Regions from separate parts of the Homo sapiens genome. Here region 1 is linked to region 2. The links are contacts of gene promoters, found by promoter capture Hi-C in blood cells and fetal thymus (Javierre and others, 2016). All regions are on one chromosome and are shown on one strand. The core of a region is centred on a gene start or on the middle of the fragment in contact, and the rest is flanking DNA. Distances in the headings are between cores, read along the strand shown.

What was found. Contacts are between HindIII fragments. The CHiCAGO score rates a contact against its expected background, and 5 or more counts as called.
Region 1: a contact is called between a fragment that was not itself captured here and the fragment with the promoter of SFT2D3 in region 2, in 1 of 17 cell types (total B cells). The highest score is 5.2, in total B cells.

Annotation. Positions count from the first base shown.
Region 1 is chr2:127,588,454-127,591,482 of GRCh38, reverse strand. It overlaps MYO7B (myosin VIIB), which reads right to left. Exons shown (of 48, transcript NM_001393586.1): 15 at 2,928-3,029; 16 at 1,254-1,391. Among named protein-coding and RNA genes, the nearest start is that of MYO7B-AS1, 41 kb to the left of the region's middle. The HindIII fragment of the contact is 8,153 bases long and covers 1-3,029 here.
Region 2 is chr2:127,700,179-127,702,884 of GRCh38, reverse strand. It overlaps SFT2D3 (SFT2 domain containing 3), which reads right to left and starts at 1,388. Exons shown (of 1, transcript NM_032740.4): 1 at 1-1,388. The coding sequence starts at 1,356. The coding sequence ends at 709. It overlaps WDR33 (WD repeat domain 33), which reads left to right. Exons shown (of 22, transcript NM_018383.5): 22 at 1-1,858. RefSeq lists a silencer at 630-1,309 and enhancers at 1,629-2,150, 2,070-2,439, 2,151-2,672, 1,667-2,706. The HindIII fragment of the contact is 7,289 bases long and covers 1-2,706 here.

The DNA.
Region 1 (3,029 bases), core at 104-2,603, 110 kb after region 2:
AGGGTTTTGCTTCTAAGGGGCTGAGCCTGGGTTTGAACCCTGAGCAGCCACCAATGAGAGATATCCCAGCCAGAGGCACTCTTAACCCCCGAGCTTCAGCCTCAGGCCTGCCTGCCTGTCCTGCAACTCCCAGCTCCCAAGGTAGGCAGGGTCTGAACGAGCCAAGGGTCTCTGGGAGCCCAGCTACTTCTCCCAGCAGTTAAGGAACAAGATAGGTTATCTCACATCTGCCTATTTTGCCTTCAAGGAAGATGCAACCTAGATTTCATAAGGCAAGCCTCATTTTATTTTTTTAGAGACAGGTCTTGCTCTGTCACCCAGGCTGAAGTGCAGTGGTGTGATCATAGTTCACTGCAGCCTTGACCTCCTGGGCTCAAGTGATCCTCCTCCCTCAGCCTCCTGAGTAGCTGAGACTACAGGCACATACCACCATACCTAGCTAATTTTTATACTTTTAAATTTTTTTGCAGAGATAAGGTCTTACTATGTTGCCCAGGCTTGCCTCAAGCAATCCTCCCGCCTCAGCCTCCCAAAGTGCTGGGATTACAAGCGTGAGCTACTGCACCCAGATCAAACTCGATTTCACATAGTTTTATTCTTTCCAAAAAGCATTTAATTTCATGTAATATTTTTATTCCCTTATGGGGATAAAACCATTTTATATTGTTTCAGCTGATGTCTCCTAGTTTGGGGAATCCCTGCATATGCGGCCTCTGGGTGGGACTCCCCACCCAATGGAGCAGGGACTCCGTTGTGGGCAGGGAGTGTGGGCTCTCACCCCCTCACCGTCTCACAGCAGGTAAAGCTGACTGTCTGCAGGGCTGGTGAAAGGAGTGGTGTCAGCCTCTAAAGTCCTATTACTGATTTCTGCCTTTGTTGAGTGTGGTTTACATATGGGACATGTACTGCAAACCTCATGTCCAACCCTCAGTGCATTCCTGCAGGCAGGAGCAAGTCTGACTTAACAGAAGGGAAAACTGAGGCTCACAGCAGCAAAGAGCCAGGCCAAGAACGCACAGAAGATGCATGGCGGAGCTAAGGGAACTGAGGTCTCAGCAACCCAAAGCTCTGCAGGTCACTGACCTTCACATGACCTAGTCTGGTCACCTTACCCCAGTGTACTTATCTGTAAGGTAGGGGCAGTAACAGCTCTAACGCTAGCCAGGCCCTGGCAGAGGGAGTGACCACAACCCTAGAGGCCATCAGCCTCCTCCTCCTCCCTCCTTTGCTGTGCCCCAGCCTCCTGTCATTACCAGCGGCTTCTTGTACTCATTAGGTTTGATGCAGCGGATGAAGTAAGGCTGGCAGTTGGTCAGGATTTTCATCAGCTGGTCCAGAGACTGTTTGAACTGGCTTCCTAAGGTGGAGGGCCGTTTATTTGAGTCTGCAGACTGTGAATGGAAGCACAGAGCACAAGTGGGTCTCAGGAGCCATGTCCTGGGACAGCTGACCCTGTAGGCCAGCAAGGGTTGCGGCCAAGGCCCCACAGGTGGGGTGGTGCATCTACCTATTCAAGAATCCACCCACCCACCCATCCATGTATCCATCCACCCACTCACCCATCCACCCACCCCTTCACCCATCCACTCACACACCTATCCATCCACCCACCCACCCATCCACCCGCCCACCACCCATCCACCCACTCACCCATCCTTCCACCTACCCAGCACCCATCCACCCACCCACCCATGCGTCCATCCATTCACCCACCCACCCACCCATCCATCCTTCCATCCACTCACCAACCCACATAGCCACCCGCCCATCCATCTATCCATCCACCCTCTCACCCATCCACCCACCCACCCATCCACCCACCCATTCACCCATCCATTCACCCATGCACCCACTCATCCATCCACCCACGCACCACCCATCCACCCACTCACCCATCCATCCACCTACTCACCACCCATCCACCCACTCACCCATCCACCCATGGCCCCACTAAGGCCATGCTCTCCACCCCTCTACCCAGGCGTGGCCCCCACCATCTACCCAGCACAAAGTCACTTCTCCTATCTAAACTCTGGACCCCCCAGATTCCCATTCCCACTCCAAACCCCCTTATATAAGCTGCCACATGCACCCACCCATGCACCCATTCATTCACCATTCCACCCACCCATCCATCCATCCACTCACCCATCCACACAGCCACCCACCCATCCATCTATCCATCCACCCACCCACCCATCCACCCACCCATCCATCCACTCACCCACCCACACAGCCACCTGCCCGTCCATCTATCCATCCACCCACTCACCCATCCACCCATCCATTCACCCATCCACCCACCCACCCGTCCATCCACTCACCCATCCACACAGCCACCCACCCATCCATCTATCCATTCACCCACTCACCCATCCACCCAACCATCGACACACCCATTCACCCATCCACTTACATACCCATCCACCCATCCACTCACCCACCCATCCATCCACCCACCCACCACCCATCCACTCACTCACCCATCCATCCACCCATCCACTACCCATCCACCCACTCACCCATCTATCCACCCAACCACCCATTCACCCGTCCATCCACTCACCCATCCATCCACTCATCCATCCATCCATCCAACCAACCAACCACACATCCATTTACCCATCCACCCTCACACACCCATCCACCCATCCACTCACCCACCCATCCATCCACCCACCCATCCATCCACCCACCCACCACCCATCCATCCACTCACCCATCCACCCACCCACTACCCATCCACCCACTCACCCATCTATCCACCCACCCATCCATTCACCCATCCATCCATCCATTGCAGGATTCCCAAGTGCCAACTGCATGCTGTGGACCCAGAGGTGAGTAAAACAGTCTTTCCTGTACATGTCTGTCTGGCCCTGTAGCCATCAGGGGTGACAGACCCAGGAGGGTGCCTGGGAGCCCACCTTGAAGAGATGGTTTCCTGCCTTTGCCTGGCGGATGGTCCCATGGCCCAGCTTGGTCTCTGCTAACTCCAAGTTGAATATCTCCCTCAGAAACTTGTTTTT
Region 2 (2,706 bases), core at 139-2,638:
GAAGAGACCGTTAAGCATCTACGCGCCCCTTCCTGGATCCCATGCTTCTTGGGGCAGGAAATTTCTTTTGGTCCGTCGCTTTCGTCGTGAAATACACAACTAATTTTCCTTTCATGTTATAAGGCACCATATTTATGATTTTGTTAACTGAAGAAAAAACCCGAGATAAACCATCTTAAGTACTTTTAAAAGTCCAGTGGCTGAATTCGGTGTTTAATCTGATACCCTTCTGGATTCGCTGACACTGGAGAGAATAATTTCCAAGTCTTAGTATAGCCAAAACAAAAAACTACCGTCGCTAAGCTACATCTACCACTGGATTTTAAAATGACAAAACAGCCTGAGAAAAATCACAAGAGCAGCTAACTCGAAGAAAAATCCTTTTTCTTTACTCAGCCGAACCTAAGACCACAGTTACTTCGAAAGCAACTTCTAATAACCGTCTCACATCCTGTCACCAGTTCAATGACAAAATCTCAGTTTTCAGAGCGTGTGCCAAGTCCAGCACAAAAAGCTGACATCGAGGAGCTCCCAACGCTGCTGTCGCCTCCGCTGGCAGCAGCCGCTCCCGGATTAGACTCGCAGGCTGTTAGGGCAGGGCCTTCGCCACGGGCTTCCGCACAGCGGCGTGCAGTCCTCAGCTCGGCCGGCGCGGTCTCCGACGGCGCTGGCTCCGCGTACTTCCCCAGCGGCGAGGGCGCGAGGTCCTCACACGGGCAGCACCTTGGCGAGGCCGGCGCCGCGGCCCAGGCGACCCAGTGCGAGGCGCAGCGCGGTGCCGCCGCCCCAGGGCAGCAGCCCAACCAGCGCGGCCAGCAGCGCGGCCACCTGCGCGCCCGCGCCCAGCACCGTGAGCAGCGTGCTGCGAAGGCCCAGCGCGGCGAACAGCGTGGCGCCCAGCGCTGCCATGTAGAGCAGCGCGGGCCGGGACGGCGCTTCTTCGCAGCGCAGCAGGCGTCCGCACGCCGCGCCGCCCCGCAGCAGCGCGCTTCCCGCCAACGCCAGCGCCGAGCCCAGTGACCAGAGCAGCGCGAACTTGCGCGCGCGCAGCAGCAACACCGGTGCGTAGAGCGCGGCTAGGCCGAAACACAGTGCAGCCAGCAGCAGGCACCCGCCGCCCGCCGCCAGCCGCTGCCCGCGCGTCACGCTCGGGAGGCACGTCAGGCCGGCCGCTGCCGACTCCGCAGGGCTCCGCGCCCACGTCCAGCGCAAGCCCGCGCGGCCCAGCCACTCCTCCGCCGGCCGGTCCCCGGGCTCCTCCGCCTTCTCCGCGGCGAGCAGCGGCTCCGCGGCCGCCGGGCCGCCAGCTTTCCCCTGCGCCAGGTACTCCTGCAGCTGGCGGTGGAGGTCCGCCATCTTGGACAAGGCGGTGGCAGAAAGGAAAAGCTGCGGCTCACTTCCGGCCCTCCGCTGAAGCGGTTCGGTCTTCGGGCGGCAATTGGTCGGCGACGGCGAAAGGGGCAGGGCCTGCGGCGCTCGCGGAAGTGCCGCGGTGCCTGCTCTGCGGACTTTTGTGGTGTCCCCAAGTACCGTGGTCGCAGGTGCTGCCTGTCCGCTTGCAGTCGCCCTCCCAGCGCCTGACCCTCTTCCTTGTTCGGAGTAGGCGCCCTTGCGGTCTGGCTAAGTCCTGCCAGCATTAATAGTTGGAAGGCAGGGGTGGGTGTGGTTCTAAAGGGGCACAAGAAGTGACCCTTTTGCTGACGGAAATGTCTTATGGCCTCACTGCGTCTACCGTGGCGGTGATATTGTGCTAGTTTTGCAACATGGAGGAATGGGTAAAGGGTACACAGAATCTCTCTTGTTTCTTACAACTGAACACAAACAGTGATCTCAAAATAAAAATTTAATTTTTAAAAAAGTTCAGACCTGTGTAACTCAGGTGGGTTTTTTGGGGAAAGTTGCGTTCTGATTAGTTACCTCACTTGTAGTAATAGTGACCATCCTGATCATTTACCATGGGGTTGATAAAGGAAGGGTTGACACCCAGCACCCTCAACCTGCTTCTCTATTCTGTTCTCAGTTTCGGCCACAGGCCTGGCAACATCCTTGACTCCTTCGCGCCCCTTGTCCAAGACTCGGTGCTGCTGTCCCATGTGTTTGGTGTCACTCTCGTGCTCTGGACAGCGCCACGCCCAGGTGTCCTGACTCATCGTCACATCACTGTGACAAGCTGGCTCGCACGCAGGTCAATCCTGATCTGTTCCCAGGCCGCACCCACGTGCCCTGCTGTTTCTCAGAGCCTCCTAGAGGGTGTTTGCTTGTGGTTCCTCTCACAGGTCAGATTCCTCCAGATTCTTCCAGCTGCCTCCACAGCTCCCCTCACCACCTTGGCTTCCCCTGGGTGGCCCTGTGTCCTTTGTCCTCTGCCCTAGGTGGATGTAAGGTTAACGGCTTCCTGCTGTTTGGCTTCTCAGCCTTTCCATCCCCTGTGTGTAACTAATCTCCCCCATTAAGTTCCTTTTAATGCTTTCTGTTTTCTTGGTTGGATCCTGGCAGATGCAATTCTTTTTCAAAATATATTCTGATTTGTTATCTCACTTGATAATAATAGTGACCAGCCTGATCACTTAGCATGGGCTAAACCATTAGGATGGCTACAATCAAAACAAAAAAACAAAAACACACCAGAAAGTTACAAGTGCTGTCAAGGATGTGGAGAAACTAGAAGCCTTGTGCACCGTTGGTGGGAATGTAAAATGCTATATC